Linked DNA regions of Homo sapiens: all the other regions are linked to region 1. Evidence: promoter capture Hi-C in human tissues and cell types (Jung and others, 2019). All regions are on one chromosome and are shown on one strand. The core of a region is centred on a gene start or on the middle of the fragment in contact, and the rest is flanking DNA. Distances in the headings are between cores, read along the strand shown. Region 1 holds the start of FAM168A (family with sequence similarity 168 member A). Region 2 overlaps IUR1 (imatinib upregulated ABL suppressing lncRNA 1). Region 3 has its middle 8.5 kb from the start of P2RY2. Region 4 has its middle 8.0 kb from the start of DNAJB13. Region 5 overlaps LOC105369382 (a long non-coding RNA gene). Region 6 overlaps PAAF1 (proteasomal ATPase associated factor 1). Region 7 overlaps PAAF1 (proteasomal ATPase associated factor 1).

Region 1 (3,227 bases), core at 243-2,742:
CTCACCCAACCACAGCCACCAAGGCTGTTCATTTAAGTATTCCAACCCTTAACCCTCATGTGTCTCTTGGAGGCCACCCCAATCCTTCACCACCAAAATAATCCAACCCAATTCCCCCCTGCTCTCCAGCACAGCTCACTGTCCCTCTCCATCCTCTCTGCCCCATCCATACCAACAGCTCCAGGTCTCCCATTCCTTAAATTTCCCCTGTGCCACCTCACCATCAGCAACCACCTCCCCAGGCCTACCAGCTCATCTCCGAAAGTCCTTCTCCAAAACTCCCTCTGCCACCTTGGCCAAGGGATATTTTCTTCAAGATACCATCCCCCAACTTTGCTCACCCCTGCCGCTATCCTTTCAATGAAAGCAGCCCAGTGATGTTTTATGTGCCCTCTGCCTTGACTCTGCAACCAAGGAGCCACCATGCCCTTTCCAGTGATTGTAAGATCACCCTAAATCCAACCCACTGTGCCCCACACTCCATTTCCATCCCTGTCCTCCCATTTCGGGCCTGACTTCCAATGTGGCCCCTTCCTGCCAGCTCACCATCACACTCCCCTCACTGAATGTCCCACCTCCACCAACTCCTATTCCAACCTCCATCAGCCCACCCCAGGAAACCCCCAAATTGCACTCTTCTGCTCTATCCTAACCCATGCTATTCCATAAGTCTCCACAAATTCCACCAGCCCCAGATGACAAACACCCACTTCAAGCTTGGGTCTCAACCCATGCCAAGCCCCTCACCCCCAACTCCTGCCACCTCCATCATCCTGCCCCAGGTCCACCCCAAATTCCACCCTTCTGAATTAACACTACGCAGGGCCCTAACCAACCCTGTACATGCCACTCACTCTCCGTTGAAATCATTCCCCTGCCCCTCACCCCAGCTCAGATCCCAAGCTGTCAACTGCTCCAGGCCAAACCCAAATCACCACCCTCATTCAGTCCCCTCCCCCATTAAAAGCCATCCCACCCTAGTCTCATCTTCCACCTCGCCCCAAGACCATCCCGAATTCCAACCCGACGCCCCCACCCCACTCTCCTGTCCCAGGTTGGGTTATTCTCCATCAAAAGTCCTCCTCCCTTGTCGCCCGCCCCCCAACCTGCTTGGGTCCCACCCTCACCCCACCCCCGGCCAGCGCCTGGACAAGTCTCCCCCGCCAGCCCGCCGTTCCATCGCGACCTCAACCCCCTCCCCCCAACCTGCACGGGGGCTCCGCAGCCTCCCCTCTCATTCTCGCCAGCGCCACCGGCCCAGACTCAGGACCAGCGGACCCTGTGGCGGGGGGAGTCTCCTCACCGGTGAGCAGCTGCAGGCGAAAACGGCGGCGGCGGCGGCTGAGGCGGCGATGCCCTTGTCTTCTCCGGAGGCTACGGCGGCGACGCTCTCGCCCGTGTCCAGTAGGGTGGCGGATGGCGCGCGGGGACCGGAGCCTCCTCCTCAGCGACTCGGCTCTGAATCCTCTGCAGTAGCCGCCGAGGAGCCCGACGGGTGGGGGGAGGGGACGCTCGGCTGCGGGCGAGGGAGGAGGAGGCGGAGGGAGGAGGCGGGGGACCGCTCAGAAGGGCAGGGAAGGAGGAGCCGGCGCGGCGCCGCGACACGTCCCACAGCCTCAGAGCGCCGGGACCACAACTCCCGGCATGCCCTGCTTTAGCCCGCGCGCGGCCTGCGCCTCCCGCCGCGAGCCCGGTGCAGAGGGGCCGCGCCCTCTCCGGTCACGGACAGTGGAATAAAGCCAACCATCCGCTGGCGAATTTTGTAGACTCAAAGACCACCTGTGAGGAAAGTCAGGTCGCCCGAGGCCCCATCCCCAAGGGGCCGTACTCGCAGCGTCTCCATCCTCTTTGCATAGACACCCCCCTCCCCCCGCCCACACACACACACACACTCTCTGTCTCTCCCTCTCTCCCTCTCTCCCTCTCTCCCTCTCCCTCTCGTCTCTGTCTCTGGACTACACCTCCCAGCATGCCCCTCAGCTTCCTATTCTCCTTCCGGACCCTTCTCAGACCCGGTACTACAGTTCCCAGGGAGTGTGGTCCCTGCGAAATGCTGGGAGATGGAGTTCTCGGTTCTTCCTCCATGTTAAGAAAAAGAAGTGAAAGAGAGGCAAAAGGGAAGGAATACGCCAGCCCACCGAGGATGGGCCTTGATGGGCTAGATCACCTGTGATTCTGTTCATCCCTCGCCATCTCCGTTTCAGCTGTCTCTCACCAGAACTAATGCCGGAGCTTCCTCGCTGGTCTCCCTGCAAATTTGAGGACGATTCGGCAACTTGAATCCAAACGACAAAGGGCATATCCTCTTCTTGACCCAGCTCCATTACTTTTAAGAATTTACCTTAAAAAGATGATCGAACAATTTCGAAAAGATGAATGCACAAAGTTGTTATATGACGTAGTTAATTATGAAGGGAGTAAATGTTCATCGATAGGGTGCTGCTTAAATAAGACGTGACATATACATACAATGCAATACTAAGGAGCCATTTAAAATGATATAAATCTATTGACATGAAAAGCTATTCACAATTTATTCTTCGGGGAAAAAGTTGATTACACAACAGCATGTCTACACGAGTGCATTTATGTGAGGTTTGACACAATATTCTACAAGCATGGAGAGATTTCAGGAAAGAGGTTCGCCAAAATATTAGCAATGATTATCTTGGGGGAAAGGGTGTCAGATTGCACGTAGGTTTTTTTTGTTTTTTGAGACGGAGTCTGGATCTATAGCCAGGCTGGAGTAAAGTGGGGGCGATCGCAGGTCACTGCAACCTCTGCCTCCCGGGTTCAAGCGATTCTCCTGCCTCAGCCTCCTGAGTAGCTGGGACTACAGGCGCGCGCCACCACATCCAGCTAATTTTTGTATTTTTAGTAGAGATGGGGTTTCACTATATTGGCCAGGATGGTCTCGATTTCTTGACCTCCTGACCTGCCCGCCTCAGCCTCCCAAAGTGCTGGGATTACAGGCATGAGCCACAATGCCCGACTGTAATTTTTGTTTTCATATTGTTTGAATTGTTTAAAAGGAGCACATAACGACTGTTTTTTGTTTTCTTTTTTGTTTTGTTTTAATTGTAAGAGACGTCGTCTCACTATATTGCCCAGGCTGGTTTCAAACTCCTGGCCTCAAGAGACCCTCCTGCCTCAGCTCTCAAAAGTGCTGGGATTACAGGTGTGAGCCACACTACACCTGGACAATTTTTTAAGCTGTGCTACTTCCA
Region 2 (3,227 bases), core at 387-2,886, 440 kb before region 1:
GTTGCACAGGCTGGAGTGCAATGGCATGATGGCTCACTGCAACCTCCGCCTCCCAGGTTCAAGCAATTCTTCTGCCTCAGCCTCCTGAGTAGCTGGAATTACAGGCACCCGCCATCATGCCCCTCTAATTTTTTTGTATTTTTGTAGAGATGGGTTTCACCATGTTGGTCAAGCTGGTCTTGAACTCCTGACTTCAGGTGATCTGCCCTCCTCAGCCTCCCAAAGTGGTGGGATTACAGGTGTAAGCCACTGCGCCCAGCCCATTTCCAAAGCTTTTCATCATCCCAAACAGAAACTCTGTAATTATTAAACATTAACTCCCCATTCCCCTTCCTCCTACCCCTGATAATCCTCTTATTCTGCTTTTGGTCTATGAATTTGCCTTTTCTAGGTACCTCATATAAGTGGGATCATACAATACTTGTTTTTTGTGTGTATCTGGCTTCTTTCATAATGTTTTCAGGATTCATCCATGTTGTACATGTGTCAGTACTGCATTCCTTTTTAAAAGTTGAATAATATTTCACCTTATGGGTATACATTTTGTTTAGCCATTCATCTGTTGATGGACAATTGGGTTATTTCCACTTTTTGGCTATTGAGAATAATCCTGCTGTGAACATTGGTATATAAGTATCTGCTTAAGTCTCTGCTTTCCATTTTGGGGGATATAGACCTAGAAGGGAAATTGCTGGATCAACTTGGTAGCTCAATGTTTCACTTCTAAAGGAACCAACAAACTGTTTTCCACAGTGGTTACACCATTTTACATTTCTATGAGCAGTGCACTAGGGTTCCAATTTTCCTACATCCTTGCAAACACTTGTAATTTTCCTTTTAACAAAAAGTTATATCCATCATAATGGGTGTGAAGTGGTATCTCATTGTGGTTGGCCTGGAGATTTTTTTTCAAAAAACATATTTGACCAGGTGCAGTGGTTCGTGCCTGTAATCCCAATGCTTTGGGAGTCCAAGGCAGAGGATTGCTTTAGCTCAGGAGTTCGAGACCAGCCTAAGCAGACTCCTGTCTATACAACAACAACAACAAAATAATTTAAGAAAAAATTAGCCAGGCACAGTGGTGCACATTTGTAGTTCCAGCTTCTTGGGAGGCTGAGGATCACTTGAGCCCAGAAGTTCAAAGCTGTAGTAAGCTATGATTACACCACTACACTCCAGCCTGGATGACAGAGCAAGACCCTGTCTCTAAATAAAAAACAAAGCAAAACAAAACAAAACAAAAACCGTATTTTAGCTGCAGGGTTCTTTAATCAGAGGAAAAGTTACCCAAAGACTGCATGAAGGCTTTGGTGAGGAGTTGATAGTGGTTAACTGGAGGCAAGAAGGGCAGGTAAGGTCGCATGGGGCTGATAACTATGCACGTGCGTGTGCGTGCATGCGTGTATGTGTATTGAGGGGGTGCTCGTGTGTAGAGGGCACTTTCTCTTGGTCTCCCTCTCCCTGACTTGCCCCACACAGAGGTCTTTTCTGAGGAACCCAGTGGCATAGTATAAAAGTCCCTGACTAATGGTCACTGAAGTCACTTCCTTTCTGGGATACTTACCGGGAGGAGGCCATGTGTAACAGGGGCAGGAAGCTTCTCTATTTCGTCGTTAGGGGAGGACTTAGCAAGTCACCTTGGAGGAGGCCCTCTCTGTTCTGTCCACCACTTGAGTTTATCAGATGTAAGTAGCACCTGGGAGACAAAACAGGACCTTTTGTGGCCCAACAAAGGCTGCCTCTCCTAACATCAAATGGGATGCAGAGCTGAAGAAAAAGGCAACATATTTGGGAGGAGTGAGACGTTGACAAAGGAGCCCCAGGGCACAAATGGAAGAAGGTCCAGTCACTTTCCTTGTGAGGTTCAAAGTTATCTGGCTGCTAAGATGACCATCCCCAGTGAGCCCCACTTGTTGGAAGGAAAGAACCCCTGAGCCCCCAGTGGTGTAGGAAGGAGCCTTGGACTGGTGGCCAGGCTTAACTCTGGGGCTGAGGACCTAGAAGCCCCTCTGGACCTTCCTCCTGGTGAAACTTGCTGGAGCTCAGGAGTGTGAATGAAAGCTTGGATTTGGGGGTCATGTGTTCACAGCTGCTGGGACTCTGAACAGTAAGATGGAGCAAGACTGGGACTCAAGAGTGCCTTTGTTGGAAAGGAGCTAGTGTAGTCCCTGTGGGTTTTGAGCACTCCTGTGACATGGGGGAAGGCCTCCAGAGGGCCAGATTGAACTTCCTGCTGATAAAATCTTGTGGAGCTCAAGCAATTAATGGGGAAAAAATTTGGCCATAGTTTTTACCTTAAGCTGGTGGAGGGACCACACAAGTTACATGCAGTTCTCAAGTTATTTGGTTCTCTAGTTCCAGAGGTGGGGCAGGATGAGGGGGACCAGGAAAGTATATTATTCCTTTTTGCACCCAAGCCAGCTCAAGACAACCCTGGGGAATGGGAGGGAAAGTCTCTGGGCCTCTTTCCTTACTTAGGTTTCCTTCGTGGGTCCCCTTCAAGAGCCGCTCCTCATCTTCAGGATTCCACCATGGCCCCTTGCCTATGTCTACAGCCCATGATAGTACTCAAGTACTCAGGCTATTTCCTGTTCACTGTCCCTACAAAGCTTATCCAGCCTGGGTCCAGGTTCCTCTGTTCCCCATTAGGAGCACTGAGCTCAGCTAATAGACCAAATTGACCGAAGGAGCTGGTGACAACAGTTGGTTAATCCAGCCACTAAGGGCTTCACATGCATCCCTTCCCTGACTCCATTCACATTTCACCAAGGATCACAGTTACTCCAAAGGCACAACAATCTGAGCAAAAGGTTGCTGGAATGTGCTGCTTCAACAGCCTTTCAGCTCTGTTGTGCAAAGAAGGTGTAATTCTACTGGTGGAATTTTAGGCACTTTGAAAGAATGTTTGGGATATAGTTTCTTGCAAATAGGCAACCTTTGCTCACCCACAGAGAAGACAGCATTTTCTGCCTACACATGAGGGAGCCTACGTGAGGCCCAGCTCCAGTTGTGACCTTCAGTTCCACTCCCTAGGCCAAGATGCTAAATTCAGATCACCCATTAGTTCAGAAGCAGGTTAGACCAGTCACCATAAGCATGTGCCTGGGCAACCAATCTTGTTTATGCAAAAGGAGTCTTTAGTCTGCAATGTTTTGCACACCCAGCACACAAATGAAAACAGTTCTTGACTACACTTGGAAGGAAAAGAAAGAAAAGCAGGATAAAGG
Region 3 (3,227 bases), core at 435-2,934, 390 kb before region 1:
TATATAAACAAATTAAGCTAAGTTATTGAAGGCAAATATTTTTATATTCTCATGTTTAAAAACAAAAGTCAACTACATAATATGCTGCTTACAAGAAATACTTAAAATAATACAGAATATCCAAATACATGTATTAAAGATAAACGTGAAAAAAGAGAAAAACAAGTATTAAAAGAATATATGGGGAAGAAATGTTGGAGTAGAAAAACCTTTCTAATTATGACTCAAACTCCAGAAGCCATAAAAGAAGAGATTGGCCAGGTGCCATGGCTCACATCTGTAATCCCAGCACTTTGGGAGGCTGAGGTAGGAGGATCACTTGAGTACAGGAGTTTGAGACCAGCTTGGGCAACATAGTGAGACCTTGTCTCTACAAAAAACAAAACAAAATTAGCTAGGTGTGGTGGTGCACGCCTGTAGTCCCAGGTACTTATGAGGCTGAGGAGAGAGGATTGCTTGAGCCTGGGAGGTCAAGGCTGCAGTGAGCTGAGAAAATGCCACTGCACTCCAGCCTGGGGGACAAAATGAGACCCTGAATAAAAAAAAAATAAAAATAAAAATAAAAGATTGATAAATTAAATCACAGAAAAATTAAAACTTCTATGTTAAAAAAAAGTTACAAACCTAAGTGCTATGATTTGAACATGTCCTCCAAATTTCATGTGTTAGTGACTTAATCCCTAAATTCATTGTTGATTGGAAGTGGGGCCTTCAGGAGGCACTTAGGATTAGACAAAGTCATCAAGGTGGGGCCCACATGATGGGACTGGTAGCTTTATAAGGAGAGGAAGAGAAACCTAAGCTAGCATGCTTGCTCCGTATTGCCATGCGATACCTCTCACCATGTCATGCTACAGCAGGAAGGCCCTCACTAGATGCCTGAACCATGCTCTTGAACTTCCCAGCCTCCAGAATCATGAGCTAAATAAATCTCTATTCTTTATTAATTACCCTGTCTATGGTATTCAGTCATAGCAACAGAAAATGGACTAAGACACTAAGTAAAACCTAAAGACAAATGACAAACTAGGAAAAAATATTTTCAATTCAGGTCACAGACAGAGGGATGAATAATCTTCCTAAAATACAATAAGCTAATGCAAATCAGTAAGACCAACAACTTAATAGAAAAATGGCTAAAGGATATACAGTCATGCACCGCATAGTGATGTTTTGATCAATGATGAACTGCATATACAACAGTGGTCCCATAGGATTATAATACTGTGTTTTTACTGTACCTTTTCTATGTGTAGATATGTCTAGATATACGAATACTTACCATTGTATTACAATTGCCTCTAGTATTCAGTACAGGTACAAGTTTGTGGCCTAGGAGCAATAGGCTATACCATATAGCCTAGGTGTGTAGTAGGCTATACCATCTGGGTTTGTGTTCACGTTCACACAATGATGAAATCGCAAAGTGACACGTTTCTTAGAAAGCATCCCAGTCTTTAAGCAACTCATGACTGTAATGGAAAAGGAAATGGAAATGGATCATAAATTATACTTTTGTTATGAAGATATGCACTCAAAACAAAAAAAAAAACCTGACAAATTAAAACTACACTGAGACATGACTTTTCACCTATCAGACTGGCAAAAATCCAAAAGTTTGATATCACAGTGTTGATGAGGCTATGGAGATACAGGCACTCCCATACACTGCTGGTGGAAGGGTAAATGAATACAATCTCGGTGGCTGACAATTTGACAACAGTTATCACATCTTCAAATGCACAATCCTTTTGATCGAGTAATAAGTTTCTGTGAAATTTTCCTACATATATTTACACCCAAGCAAAAAAATATGTACAAGGCTATTCATTGCAGCATTGTTTGTACTAGCAAAAAATTGGCAACAACCCAAATGTCCACCAACAGAGGACTGGTTAAATACATTATGGTATGACTATACAATGGGATACTATGCGGCCCTTATAAAGAATGAAGAAGCTTCCAATGTACTGACTTGGAAAGATCTCCAAGATACACTGTTAAGTGATAACATGCAAGGGTCAGTGTGTATCTTTATGATACTCTTTTGTGTTTTTTCAAAAAGGAAAATGAGGGAAGCTGAGGCAGATGGATCACTTGAGGTCAGGAGTTTGAAACCAGCCTGGCCAACATGGTGAAACCCTGTCTCTACTGAAAAAAATATATACAAAAAATTAGCCAGGCATGGTGGTGCAAGCCTGTAGTCCCAGCTACTTGAGAGGCTGAGGCACAAGAATCGCTTGAACCTGGAGGGTGGAGGCTGCAGGGAGCCAAGATCACGCCACTGCACTCCAGCCTGGGTGAGAGAGCGAGACTCCATGTTAAAAAAAATTAAAAATAAATAAAAATTAAAAAGGAAAATAAGTGGAAATGTTTGTATTCACACAAAGGAACTCAAGGATACGCAATAAACTAACAAAAACACTTTCCAGGTTAAGAGTGAAGGGAGCAGTGGAAATCAGGCAACTGAATGATGGGGGATGGAGGGAGACATTTCTCTGAATATCTTTTTTTCCTATACTATAACATTTTTGAACCATATATTACTCATTCCAAATTTTAAATAGAAAAGTTAAATGACACAACAAGTTTACATTTGGAAGCACAGACAAAGCTATGCTGGCTAAATGCAAATGAAATAAAGCAGGGGATGGTAGTAGTGATGTAAGAAATATTTTAAAATATGGCTAAAAGCATTAGATGGGACAAAAAGGGGACACTTTTATCTATAAAAATATGTAAGCCATAGTGAGGATGTACTTTTATATATTGAATAACAGAGGATCAAAATAGATGAAATAGCAATAGAAGGAGAGGTTGATATAAACAAAAAAGTAGTGGGAGACACATCATTTTCAGCCTGCTGGGTTATATAAGTGAAAAAGAAATACTGAGGCTGGACGCAGTGACTCATGCCTATAATCCCAGCACTTTAGGAGGCTGAGGCAAGCAGATTGCTTAAGCCTAGGAGTTCAAGACCAGCCTGGGCAATATGGTGAAACCCCATCTCTACTAAAAATATAAAAAATCAGCTGAGTGTGGTGGCACCAGCCTGTAGTCCCAGCTGGGAGGCTGAGCTGGGAGGATCACCTGAGCCTGGGAAGCCGAGGTTGCAATGAGCTGGGCTGGGCAACAGAGCAAGACCCTGTCTCAAAAAAGAGGAGAGAAAGAAAGAAAAAGAAAGAAAGAAAGAAAAAGAAAGAAAGAAAGGAAGGAAGGAAGGAAGG
Region 4 (3,227 bases), core at 209-2,708, 340 kb after region 1:
TCACGCCATCACTCGTATTGGGAGCTCTGGCTCTTCCCAGAGTCCTCTCTTCCTGGTGTGGCTCATGATAGATCTTCAGATGTTTGATGGGCACCCACACAGGTACCTGATTTTCACCTGGAGAGACACAAGCAAATCCTCTTCCCCACGTAATTATCTTTCCTTTTTCCCAGTTTTTTGTGTGAGTATCTCTCCATCATATATCTTGTCTGGCCTTTTTGTTTTCCTTTTGTCCTGTCAAGTGTTGTTCAGCTGCAGTCATGGATTGATCTTTTTGTAAATTTAGAAAATGTAATATTAATAAAGCTAAGTGTAATTGCATATGCGGTGTTTTATATTCCTGGTCTCCCCCTTTTTGTTTTTGTATTTGAGTTTTTAAAGCATGATTAGCTCTTTCAACTATTGCTTGTCCTTGTGAGTTATATGGAATACCTGTAGTATGGGTAATATTCCACTGTTGAAAAAAATGTAGCCATAGCTTTACTACAGTACCCTGGGCCGTTATCAGTTTTGATTTTTTCTGGGATTCCCATAACTGCAAAGCAAGGTAAAAGATGTCTTTTAACATGAGCTGTAGCTTCTCCTGTTTGACATGTGGCCCAAATAAAATGTGAGTAAGTATCTACTGAAACATGAACAAAGGACAACTTTCCAAAGGCAGGAACATGTGTTACATCCCTCTGCCAGATGGAATTTGGAGATAAACCTCTAGGGTTAACTCCTGTTCCTTGATGTGGCAGGTGTAAGACTTGGCAGGCAGAGCAATGTTGTACAATTTCCTTAGCCTGTTTCCAAGATAAGCCATATCTGTTTCCAAGGCCTGCAGCATTAGGATGGGTTAAAGAATGGAATGTTTGTGTATCAGTAAAAGCTGCAGAAACCAGTGCATCTGCCCTTTGATTGAGTTTGGTTAAAGGGACGGGGAGGTTAGTATGTGCTCTTATATGAGTGATATACAAAGGGGAATGCCTTTGTTGTACTGCTTGTTGTAAAGAATGAAATAAAAGATTGAGTTGATCATCAGTTACATTTTCAATTAAGGCACATTCAATATTTTGCACAGCTTGCATCACATAGGCCGAATCAGAAATAATGTTTACTGGCTGTTTAAAGGTTTTTAGTACTGTAATTACAGCCATAAGTTCAGCCCTTTGAGCAGAAGCAAAGTCAGTTTGAACAACTTGTTGTTGAGGTCCTACAAATGAGGCCTTTCCATTACTAGATCCATCAGTAAAAACAGTATTGGCCCCTTCAATAGGGGTCTTTTGAGTAGTGGAGGGTAATATCCATGATGTCAATTTTAGAAATTGGAATATTTTGGATTTAGGATAATGATTATCAAGTATACCAATAAAACCAGCTAAATTAACTTGCCATTTCTGGGAGTTAACATAAGCTTGCTGAATTTGTTGTTTATTTAAAGGAACTATAATTTGATTTGGATCATATCCCATTAATTTTGTTGTATACAGCCTTGCTTGACCTATCAGTACAGCAATTTGATCTAAGTACAGAGTAAGTGTTCTAGTTGTATTGTGAGGTAGAAAAAGCCACTCAGCTAGATCATCCTGTTGAACAGTAACACCTGTAGTTGAATGTTTAGTAGGAAAAATGAAAAACTGTAATGGCTGTAGTAGATCAATTCAAGTCACTTGTGCCTGATGAATTTTTTCTTCAATTAATTGAAGTTCTTACAATGCTTCTTTGGATAGAGAGCATTTGCTGTTAAGATCAGAATCACCTCATAAGTTAGAAAAGAGGTGAGACATAGCATAAGTAGGAATGCCTAAAGTGGGAATAATTTTTGAAAATCATTTAGAGGTTTTTTTTTTTTTTTTTTTTTTTTTTGAGACAGAGTCTCGCTCTGTCACCCAGGCTGGAGTGCGGTGGTGCAATCTCGGCTCACTGCAAGCTCCGCCTCCTGGGTTCATGCCATTCTCCTGCCTCAGCCTCCCTAGTAGCTGGGACTACAGGTGCCTGCCACCACGCCTGGCTAATTTTTTGTATTTTTAGTAGAGACAGGGTTTCACCGTGTTAGCCAGGATGGTCTCCATCTCCTGACCTTGTGATCCACCCACCTCAGCCTCCCAAAGTGCTGGGATTACAGGCGTGAGCCACCACGCCCGGCCTCATTTAGAGTTTTTAAATTATCTCTTTGAATTTGAACCTTTTGAGGCTTAATAGTACTTTGTTTTACTTTCCTTCCTAAATATTGAAATAGAGTGGAAGTTTGGATTTTATCGGGGGCTGTGATTAATCCTGCAGCAGTTACAGCCTTTTCTGTTTGTAGCATAGTATTCATTCCTCCCTAGTTTCAGCTGCACATAAGATATTATCCATGTAACGGATGATATAACATTTTTTAAACTGTTTTCTAACTGGCATAAAAACTTTAACAACATAAGTTGGACAAATAGTTGGGCTATTTAACATGCCTTGTGGAAATACGTTCCAATAGTATCTATCTGCTGATTCTTTGTTATTTATGACGGGAACAGTAAAAGCAAATTTTTCATAATCTTGGGTCGCTAAAGGAATGGTAAAAAAGCAACCTTTTAAATCTATCACTATGAGAGGCCAGTATTTAGGAATCGTAGTTGGGGAGGGCAGCCCTGGTTGCAGCGCGCCCATGAGTTGAATTACAGCATTAACGGCCCTCAAGTCTGTTAACATTTTCCATTTCCCTGATTTTTTCTTAATGACAAACATAGGAGAATTCCAAGAAGAGAAAGTAGGCTCTATGTGTCCCTTTTGCAATTGTTCTTGCACCAATTCTTTTAAAGCCTCCAGTTTTTCCCGTTTCAGTGGCCATTGCTCCACCCAAACCAGTTTGGCAGTTAGCCAAACAAGAGGAATGGGTGCCAGAGGCTCGACAATGGCCGCTCCTAAAAATGATACCCCGATCCAGTTTGCTCTGTTTAACCTTTTAGTTCTAAAGGTTCTGGTTGTCCATTTTCATTTTTTGCTAGTCCTTTCCCCGGGAGATATCCCATTTTTTTCATCATTTGTTTATTGTTATTACTATATTGATCCATAGGAATAGATATTTCAGCACCCCGTTGTTGGAATAAGTCCCTTCCTGACCATCTGGCCCTTGACATGGCAGAATTAAGGAACTTTGAAACACTTCTGAGGCAGCTCCTACTCCAACAATACTAAGGATGCCTTTTGTTTGGGCCAATGCTGGCACCATTGATCTAAAGCAATAATAGAAACATCATCTCCAG
Region 5 (3,227 bases), core at 475-2,974, 340 kb before region 1:
GGTGTGCTTGAACCCCTGCATTAGCCCAGGGGTCTTCCTGGGTGGACTCTGTTCTGCGCTCTCCTTTGTTCCTGTGGTCGGGCTCCCAGATTCCATCCAGGACCAGCTCCTTTACTTACAGATGGGGGAGCCTTGGGCAAGACCACTGACCTCTCTGAGCCTCAGTTTCCCCCTCTGAAAAATTGAAATAATCAACTGTCCCTAATAAGGCTTAAGAAGGTTAATATCTTTTTTTCTTTTTTTTTTTTTTTTGAGACAGGGTCTCTGTCACCCAGGCTGGATTGTATTGGCACGATCTCAGCTCACTGCAGCCTTAATCTCCCAGGCTCAAGTGATCCTCCCACCTCAGCTTCCTGAGTAGCTGGGACTACAGGCATGTGCCACCATGCCCAGCTAATTTTTGTATTTTTTTTTTTTTGTAGAGATGGGTTTTTGCCATGTTGCCCAGGCTGAAGAAAGTTAATGTCTAAATTTATGCACAACTACTTAGAAAACAGTAAATCCCTATATCAATCTTTGTTGATAAAAACATTCCATTTTTCTCATCATTGGAACCTTGTCACGCCTCAACATTTGGGGCACCTTTACTAAATGTGACATCTTGATTTTTAAAAGTGATCTGTTTCTTTTTCATTTAATTTTCAACTAAATAATGTATTCACTTGGTTCAAACAAACAAACAAAAAAAGGTAAACAGTGAAGGATCTCCCTGTTATTGGCCCTAATAAGTAACCCAGTCAGTGGTTGCTTCTTTATGTTTCCAGGTAACTATATGTATATACAAATCCTAAAAGTAGTGTTTTTTTTCTTCCTTCATACACAAAAGTTTGCATACTACTACATACATATTTCTACACCTAGCTTTCTTCTGAAAATTCCTTTTTAAATTTATTTTTATTTTATTCTTTTTTTTTTTTTTTTTTTTTTTGAGATGGAGTCTCCCTCTGTCCCCCAGTCCGGAGTGCAGTGGCACTATCTCTCCCGGGTTCAAGCAATTTTTCTGCCTCAGCCTCCCCTGTAGCTGGGACTACAGGCGCGTGCCACCACACCCAGCTAATTTTTGTTTGTTTGTTTTTTGGTGTTTTTGTTGTTGTTTTTGTTTTGATTCAGAGTCTCGCTCTTGTCGCCCAGGCTGGAGTGCAGCGGTGCGATCTAGGCTCACCACAACCTCCACTTTCCGAGTTCAAGTGATTCTCCTGCCTCAGCCTCCTGAGTAGCTGGGACTACAGGCATGTGTCACCATGCCCAACTAATTTTTGTATAATTTTTAGTGGAGACAAGGTTTCACCATGTTGGCCAGGCTGGTCTTGAACTCCTGACCTTGTGATCCCCCTGCCTTGGCCTCCAAAGTGCTGGGATTACAGGTGTCAGCCATCACGCCTGGCTATTTTATTCTATTTTTTTAGAGACAGGGTCTCACTATGTTGCCCAGGCTGCTCTTGAACTCCCAGGCTCAAGCGATCCCCCTGCCTTGGCCTCTAAGTGCTGGAATTACAGGCATGAGCCACCATGCCTGGCCCTGAAGTTTTCTTAAAGGTCTTTCTACATAAAAACTCCCCTGTTCTGTTTTAACAACCATGATTTATTTAACCAGTTCCCTATGAATAGACAGGTCATTTCCAATATTTCAGTTTTGATTTGTTGATTTCTTAAAGAGCTGAAATAAATGAAAACACCAACTTTTTCTTCATTATGAACATAGTTTAGACTATTTACTAGACAATAATGTCTGCTTGAATCTCAGATTCAGTAAATCTGTTTTAAAATGGACAGGGATCTGTTGGTACCAAGTGAAAGAATTGCCCCACTCCCAAGGGTTGACTCACATTAACTTGGCTTTTTTAAATTTTATTTTATTTTATTCTATTTTGAAATGGAGTTTCGCTCTTGCTGCCCAGACTAGAGTGCAATGGCGCAGTCTCAGCTCACTGCAGCCTCCACCTTCTGGTTTCAAGCGATTCTCCAGCCTCAGCCTCCCCAGTAGCTGGGATTACAGGCACCAGCCACCACGCCTGGCTAATTTTTTGTGTGTGTTTTCAGTAGAGACGGGGTTTTGCCATGTTGGCCAAGCTGTTCTTGAACTCCTGGCCTCAGGTGATCCGCCTGCCTCGGCCTCCCAAAGTGCTGGGATTACAGGCGTGAGCCACCGCGCCCGGCCTAACTTGGCTTTTTGTTCCATGTGTTGGTTTCATCACCCTCTCAGTGTCCCTACAGTCCCAAGGGCAGCAGGCAGTGTTGCAGAGGTCACAGGGCTCCACAGGTAGTGTGAGCAGCAGATCTCTGTGGACTATCACCTCCTCTGACATAGGCACTATGCTCCTTTATATACTGCCAGAAAGTATGTTAACATTTATAGCCAGGCATGATGGCTCACGCCTGTAATCCCAGCACCTTGGGAAGCCGAAGCAGGTGGATCACAAGGTCAGGAGTTCAAGACCAGCCTGGCCAACATGGTGAAACCCTGTCTCTACTAAAAATACAAAAAATTAGCCGGGTGTGGTGGAACACTCCTGTAATCCCAGCTACTCAGGAGGCTGAGGCAGGAGAATTGCTTGAACCCAGGAGAAGGAGGTTGCAGTGAGCCAAGATCATGCCATTGCACTCCAGCCTGGGCAACAGAGAAAGACTCCGTTTTGAAAATAAATAAGTAAACAAACAAACATTTGTACCAGGAGCAGCGCTGGTGGGCATGGGTCTGGTAGGAGGGAGCTAAATGGAGTGTCCCATCAGTGTGCTTAGAGGCAAGAGAGGAATCCAGAGCCCTGACTAAGAGCTGCCAGGGCAGGATTCCTGGCTCATGAATTTGTGAATCAACACTTGGTTGGGCAGCTGGAATGTGGTGGGAATGAGAAAGAGGCAAGTTCCAGGAAGAGGTTCTCCTGTTCAGAACAAGGGCTAGCTGTGGCTGGTGGACTGACAGGGCAAAGGGGAGCCATGTGGGGGCTCCTGGACCTCAGGAAGGAGGCTGGGGTCTTAGGACTATGGCTGGGGCTAAAAGAGCAGCCCCGGCCCTGAGAGGAGGCCACAGGGACACCAAGGCCAGGGGCTGACAGGGGGAGGGGATATCTCAAAAGTTGTTGGAAATGCCAGATATGGCTCATCCAGTGCCGGATCTTGCTGGGCACCTGCCAGCTGCTAAGGATTGTGAGGCCATGGCTGAAGCTGGGAGGGAGCGGAACAGGAGGAAGCAAATTAGCTGCCGGACACAGTTTAACCAAGGGCTCCTT
Region 6 (3,227 bases), core at 344-2,843, 320 kb after region 1:
CCCAAAGTACTGGGAGTACAGATGTGAGCCACTGAGCCCAGCCCTGAATCCCAGTTCTTGTGCAGCACTTGCAGAGAATAAAAAAATAAAATAAATCTCAGTTCTTCTATTAATACTTAATGGTTCCAGCATTGGACAAGTTACTTAACCTCTCTGAGCCTGCTTCCTCATCACTAAACTGGTCATAATAGGGTATGTGATGAGGATTAAATGGTCTACTGTTTTGTGATCTTTGTTAAGTCACTTTCCCTCTCTGGACCTTAGTGTGCTATATGTAAAATGATGAAGTTGTATAGATTTTCTTTATGAGTCCTGCTACCTCTAAGGTAATGTGAAAAAATTCTGAGTAAAGAACTCACGCCCACTGGGCATAGTGGCTCATGCCTGTAATCCCAGCTTTCTGGGAGGCCCAGAAAGGGTGGATTGCTTGAGTCCAGGAGTTCGAGACTGGCCTGGGCAAAAAAACCCATCTCTATTAAAAATACAAAAAATTGGCTGGGCATGGTGGCATGCACCTGTAATCCCAGCTACAGCTACTTGGGAGGCTGAGGTGGGAATATCACCTTAGCCTGGAAGGTCGAGGCTGCAGTGAGCCAAGATTGCGCCACTGTACTCCAGCCTGGGGAACAAGAGTGAGACCCTGTCTCAAAAAAGGGACTCATGCATTCAGGACTCTTGATCAATTAATGAACAGACCATTAGTTGAAGTTTCTTCCTACATCCTCTGAATTTTTGCTGGGCAGATTATGTTCTTAACTAAATTCTCTCTTCCCAGAGATTAGATTTTTAAAATTTCCTTCTAGCTCCTGTGATCGTCATCCAGACAACTTTAGTGATTTGATTTGGCCACAGGGTTTGCTGTTTTCATTTCATCTTGTTACTCCACTGTGCTGGTGATATTTCCATTTTCAAAGTTTGTTTCAGGAACATTACCATTTTTGCTAATATCGCCTTTGTACTTGAGTTTCCATGCTGGCTTTTACTTCCAGAGGGAAATCAGGTTTTTTTGTTTGTTTATTTTGTTTTTTGCCTTTTCTTTTTAGTATGTTTGGGGAAGACATGATCAGTTTGAGCTAACAGTAAGGAGAAAATAAAACTATAATAATTTTTTTTTTCAGATTCATGGGGAGAATTGTGATTCTTTACATTGCTACTTTATTTAAGCCTGTTCATTTTCCTACAAAATACCCTCCTTCAAAAGGTTGAAGTGACATGGAGCAAAACTTACATGTGGGAATTGCAAGTGTTTCTCAGAAAGTTGTCATGAAAAAGGGGCAAAGAAGGAATTTTGGTGGTGAGGATCCTGTGAGACAGTGTGTTGAGTGGTAGTAGTTGGAAAACTGCTACTTCAGAGTATATTATATAACCTGCTCAAGTCCTTAGTCAACCCCAGGTTCCTGAAATCCTGGGAGTACTTCCTTCTCAGTTTTTGGTGAATGTGTAATTTACCATTTGAGAATAATTAAAGGGGGAAGGAAGAAAATATCTCAAAATATAGTGAAATTTTTCCTTTTTTGGTGCCTGTTTATTCTTGGAAACAAATTAATCTTTAAACAGCATTTTTGCCTCCTACTTGTTCCCAGGTGTTCCTCTTTATTGGCTCAGACGCTTTCAACTGCTGTACTTTTCTCTCTGGCTTCTTGCTATTGGCTGGGACTCAAGATGGAAACATTTATCAGCTGGATGTGAGGAGTCCAAGGTGAGTCACCATTCATTTACATGATGCAGGTCTTCTGCAGAGTGGAAATTTTTATTGGCTTTAACATTGATTTAGCCTAGCATATAGATAACTATTGAATCAAGGGTATATTTTTCCATTTACAAAGGTTTTCCAGTCTGAATTTTCTGATTTTTCTTATTATTCCTGGACTCATATTAAAATATATGATTCATACCATTATGATTGTCTGACTAATGATTGCTTTGAAAATTAAGCTTAAATATAAACTAACATTTCATTTAAATTGATTGTCTAGAACTTTTAATTTTAAAGAGCTCAGTAATTTTCTCTTACATTAGACCCTGGCTACCCTAAGATTGAAAGATTGAATTATTTTTATTTATTTATTTATTTTTTGAGATGGAGTCTCCCTCTGTCGCCCAGGCTGGAGTGCAGTGGTGCTATCTCGGCTTACTGCAACCTTTGCCTCCCGGGTTCAAGCAATTCTCCTGCCTCAGCCTCCTGAGTAGCTGGGATTACAGGTGCGCGCTACCACACCCAGCTAATTTTTGTATATTTAGTAGAGACAGGGTTTCATCATGTTGGTCAGGCTGATCTCGAATTCCTGACCTCGTGATCTGCCCGCCTCAGCCTCCGAAAGTGCTGGGATTACAGGCATGAGCCACTGTACCCAGCCCTGAATGATCATTTTTAGTTCAAGGAACCCAGCTCTGTTAGTTATGTAGTTTTGATCATGACCTTTCTAAACAGGCTTTTCTTTGGCCTTAAAGATATCCAAAGAGAATCACACAATCTCTCTGTTGCAGGATTTAACAATTTCTACAATTTTGTCCCTTCCTCCTTTGATTTCCTTCCTTTTTTCAACTGATATTTATTGAAAATAGCTTCTGTGGGCATCAGGCTTGGTTCAAGGCACTGAAAACCAGAAATAAAAGGTACAGGCTCTGGGCTGGGCGTGGTGGCTCACGCCTGTAACCCCAGCACTTTGGAAGGTCAAGGTGGGTGGATCACCTGAGGTCAGGAGTTCAAGACCAGCCTGGCCAACATGGCGAAACCCTGTCTCTACTAAAAATACAAAAATTAGCTGGGCATGGTGGCACGTACCTATAATCCCAGGTACTGGGGGGCTGAGGCAGGAGGATCGCTTGAACCTGGGAAGTGGAGGTTGCAGTGAGCTGAGATCGTGCCACTGGACTCCAGCCTGGGCAACAGAGCGAGACTCTATCTCAAAAAAAAAAAAAAAAAGATACAGACTCTGCCTTTGAGGCACCTGGAGTCTAATGGTAAAGATGGACAAGTAAAAGACTGTTGTGCAGTGTGATCACTTGTCTGACAGGGCTAGCTACAGAAATCTAAGGAAGCACCAAAAAGGAGAGGGAAGGAGGTGAGACTGCTTCTCCAAGGAAATGAGAAACATTGGGTCTTGTTGAGTAGGACGTTGCCAAGTAAAGAAGGAGGAAAAGAGCTGGCCTCGGTAGAATCCCATGTATAGAATCCCATATATGAAGGCATGTGAAGGGGATTGTTTTCAGGAGTCTATGACAGG
Region 7 (3,227 bases), core at 341-2,840, 290 kb after region 1:
GTTGGGATTACAGGCGCCTGCCACCACACCCGGGTAATTTTTGTATTTTCAGTAGAGACGAACGAGGTTTCGACATGTTGGCCAGGCTGGTCTTGAACTCTTGGCCTCAAGTGATCCTCCCACCTCGGCCTCCCAAAGTGCTGGGATTACAGGCAACTTAGTATAATGTTTCTATTTGTTGTTTTTATCAGTACTTCGTTCCTTTTTGTGGCCCGGTAATACTCTGTTGTATGGATATACTACATTTTGTTTATCCATTCATCAATTAATGGACACATATTTCTAGTTTTTGGCTATTATGAAGGAAGGAGATTTTGATGGCAGGATAGATGGCATGAGAACCAGCTGCTGTGGGGAATGGGAGGGGTGAAAGGATTACAAAACTGCTGAGTTTAGAAACATGAATTGGATTGGTGACAGTCGGCACAGTTGTGTTCTTTTCTGGAGCAGTACTCAGCAGCCTGCATGTAGGAATGTAGAAGGTAAGTGGTTGGATTGATCCTAGTTCTGCTATTATATAGAGAAAACCAAGGCTGAGGTCATTTTAGTGACTTCACAAATGTAGAGAAGTCAGCTGGGCAGGGTAACTCACCCTGTAATCCAAGCACTTTGGGAGGCTGAGGCAGAAGGATTGCTTGAGCCCAGCAGTTCGAGACCAGTCTGAGCAACATAGTGAGACTCTGTCTCTACTAAAAATAAAAATAAAAAAAATAGCTGGGCATGGTGGCATGCAGGCTACTCAGGAAGCTGAGGCGGGAGAATCCCTTGATTCTGGGAGATAGAGGCTGCAGTGAACCATGATCATACCACTGCACTCCAGCCTGGGTGACAGAGCGAGACCCTGTCTCAAATATTAAAAAAATACATATATATACATCCACAAATGTGGAGAAGTCATTGAGTGATTGGTTGAAATGATGCACCATGAGGGCCAGACTTCTTAAGGCAGTTGGTAAACACAATAGGGAATCATGGAGTGGGATAAAAAGTGAAGTTGCTTCAGTTCTGTTTTTGTGGCATCTTTCTGAAATAGTGCTTCATGATACTTCCCTGTGAAAAGCGTCTTTACTAGGTCTTCTCTAGGCCAAACTTCTACCCTAGACTTTGAGTTTCTCTGGGATTTATCCCTCAACTATCATTTCCATGACTGCTATTACCAAACTGGTGTATTAATTGATGAATCCTTCCTTCTTGTTCTTTTTGACTTTCTTTTATTCTTTTTTTTTTTTTTGAGACGGAGTCTCGCTCTGTCGCCCAGGCTGGAGTGCAGTGGCGGGATCTCGGCTCACTGCAAGTTCCGCCTCCCGGGTTCACGCCATTCTCCTGCCTCAGCCTCCCAAGTAGCTGGGACTACAGGCGCCCGCCACTACGCCCGGCTAATTTTTTGTATTTTTAGTAGAGACGGGGTTTCACCGTTTTAGCCGGGATGGTCTCGATCTCCTGACCTCGTGATCCACCCGCCTCGGCCTCCCAAAGTGCTGGGATTACAGGCGTGATATTCTTTTTTTTTGAGATGGAGTCTCACTCTGTCACCCAGGCTGGAGTGCAATGGCGTGGTCTCGGCTCACTGCAACCTCTGCTTGCCAGGTTCAAGGTATTCTCCTGCTTCAGCCTCCTGAGTATCATAGCTGGGACTACAGGCACGTGCCACCACACCTGGCTAATTTTTGTATTTTTAGTAGAGAAGAGGTTTCACTATGTTGGCCAGGCTGGTCTTGAACTCCTGACCTTGTGATCCACCCACCTTGGGCTCCCAAAGTGCTGAGATTACAGGTGTGAGCCACCATGCCCGGCTGACTTTCTTTTATTCTTGATATGCTCCTCCTTGACTTGGAGTTTTCTTTTCCCTATTTTCTTCCTAGCCAGCTCCTATCTTTCTTTGAGGCTCCTATACTCTCTAGAAAGCCCTCCCGGCCTGGTCGTGGTGGCTCACACCTGTAATCCCAGCACTTCGGGAGGTTGAGGTGGGTGGATCACCTGAGGGGAGGAGCTCAAGACCAGCCTGGCCAATATGGTGAAACCCCGTCTCTACTAAAAATACAAAAATTAGCCAGGTGTGGTGGCACGTGCCTTTAATCCCAGGTACTTGGGAGGCTGAGTCATGAGAACTGCTTGAACCCAGGAGGTGGAGGTTGCAGTGAGCTGAGATCACGCCATTGTACTCCAGCCTGGGCGACAAGAGTGAAACTCCATCTCAAAAAAAAAAAAAAAAAAATCCCTCCCACTCTTGTGTGAATCCATGATGATTTCTGCTTCTCTCCTGTAACTTCAGTTTGGCTCAACATTTATTTACTGAATAATAAATGAATGTAGCACCCTGCTAGACTTAAGGACTTCACAGTCTGTTGGGCAAGTCAGACATGTAAACAGTGTGTTATGGGCTGTTATAGACATGAATATATAAGGTGTAGAAGAAGAATGGAAACAGTTTTTAACTTCATTCTATCATCTGCGTGTGTTTATGTGTAGGATAGTATCTTACTTAGCCCATATCTCTGCAAAATCAGTATTCTACTTAGGCAAATTTTACAGGTTACTGAAGCTTAATTCTTTACTATGTATTATGTGTATATACTGTAGATAAATACATGTATGCATACTGATCTTCACCTTTCATCCTGGAAGAATTACATTTCACAGCCAGTTACATCAGGTTGAGATCACTCTAAAAGCCCTCTCTACAAATGCTGTATCAAATCTCTAAATCTTTGTTCTTAGCTTTTAGTCTTGAAAATGTATTTTAGTCAGGCCAGGCGCGGTGGCTCACGCCTGTAATCCCAGCACTGTGGGAGGCTGAGGCGAGTGGATCACGAGGTCAGGAGATCGAGTCCATTCTGGCTAACATGGTGAAACCCCATCTCTACTAAAAATACAAAAAATTAGCCGACATGGTGGCGGGTGCCTGTAGTCCCAGCTGTTCGGAGGCTGAAGCAGGAGAATGGTGTGAACCCAGGAGGTGGAGATTCCAGTGAGCTGAGATCACGCCACTGCACTCCAGCCTGGGCGACAGAGCAAGACTCCATCTCAAAAAAAAAAAAAAAAAAAAAAAAAAGAAAATGTATTTTAGTCTTGAAAGTGTATTCCCTTTCAAATTAGAGTTTAGTGCTATAGTGTGTATGTTTGACCCCTCCAAATCTCATGTTGAAATTTAATCCTCAGTGTTGGAGGTAGGGCCTAATGGGGGGTGTTTGGGTCATGGGGGCAGACCCCTCATGAATAGATTAATG

What was found. Contacts are between HindIII fragments. The study calls those that stand out against the background at their distance.
Region 2: a fragment that was not itself captured here is called in contact with the fragment with the promoter of FAM168A in region 1 in 1 of the 25 tissues and cell types used here (dorsolateral prefrontal cortex).
Region 3: a fragment that was not itself captured here is called in contact with the fragment with the promoter of FAM168A in region 1 in 2 of the 25 tissues and cell types used here (dorsolateral prefrontal cortex and mesenchymal stem cells).
Region 4: a contact is called between a fragment that was not itself captured here and the fragment with the promoter of FAM168A in region 1, in 1 of the 25 tissues and cell types used here (hippocampus).
Region 5: a contact is called between a fragment that was not itself captured here and the fragment with the promoter of FAM168A in region 1, in 1 of the 25 tissues and cell types used here (H1 embryonic stem cells).
Region 6: a contact is called between a fragment that was not itself captured here and the fragment with the promoter of FAM168A in region 1, in 1 of the 25 tissues and cell types used here (hippocampus).
Region 7: a contact is called between a fragment that was not itself captured here and the fragment with the promoter of FAM168A in region 1, in 1 of the 25 tissues and cell types used here (liver).

What each region holds. Positions count from the first base shown.
Region 1 is chr11:73,596,620-73,599,846 of GRCh38, forward strand. It overlaps FAM168A (family with sequence similarity 168 member A), which reads right to left and starts at 1,493. Exons shown (of 8, transcript NM_015159.3): 1 at 1,304-1,493. RefSeq lists an enhancer at 827-1,555 and silencers at 1,447-1,576, 1,707-1,936. The HindIII fragment of the contact is 9,297 bases long and covers 1-3,227 here.
Region 2 is chr11:73,160,976-73,164,202 of GRCh38, forward strand. It overlaps IUR1 (imatinib upregulated ABL suppressing lncRNA 1), which reads right to left. Exons shown (of 4, transcript XR_950294.3): 3 at 1,565-1,696. Among named protein-coding and RNA genes, the nearest start is that of FCHSD2, 20 kb to the left of the region's middle. The HindIII fragment of the contact is 3,502 bases long and covers 1-3,227 here.
Region 3 is chr11:73,208,189-73,211,415 of GRCh38, forward strand. No RefSeq gene overlaps it. Among named protein-coding and RNA genes, the nearest start is that of P2RY2, 8.5 kb to the right of the region's middle. The HindIII fragment of the contact is 7,102 bases long and covers 1-3,227 here.
Region 4 is chr11:73,941,448-73,944,674 of GRCh38, forward strand. No RefSeq gene overlaps it. Among named protein-coding and RNA genes, the nearest start is that of DNAJB13, 8.0 kb to the right of the region's middle. The HindIII fragment of the contact is 7,569 bases long and covers 1-3,227 here.
Region 5 is chr11:73,254,695-73,257,921 of GRCh38, forward strand. All of the region lies in intron 2 of LOC105369382 (a long non-coding RNA gene), which reads left to right. Among named protein-coding and RNA genes, the nearest start is that of P2RY6, 16 kb to the right of the region's middle. The HindIII fragment of the contact is 9,601 bases long and covers 1-3,227 here.
Region 6 is chr11:73,914,962-73,918,188 of GRCh38, forward strand. It overlaps PAAF1 (proteasomal ATPase associated factor 1), which reads left to right. Exons shown (of 12, transcript NM_025155.3): 9 at 1,584-1,699. Among named protein-coding and RNA genes, the nearest start is that of DNAJB13, 34 kb to the right of the region's middle. The HindIII fragment of the contact is 6,185 bases long and covers 1-3,227 here.
Region 7 is chr11:73,883,647-73,886,873 of GRCh38, forward strand. The region is part of intron 2 of PAAF1 (proteasomal ATPase associated factor 1); the gene reads left to right. Among named protein-coding and RNA genes, the nearest start is that of PAAF1, 8.3 kb to the left of the region's middle. The HindIII fragment of the contact is 5,400 bases long and covers 1-3,227 here.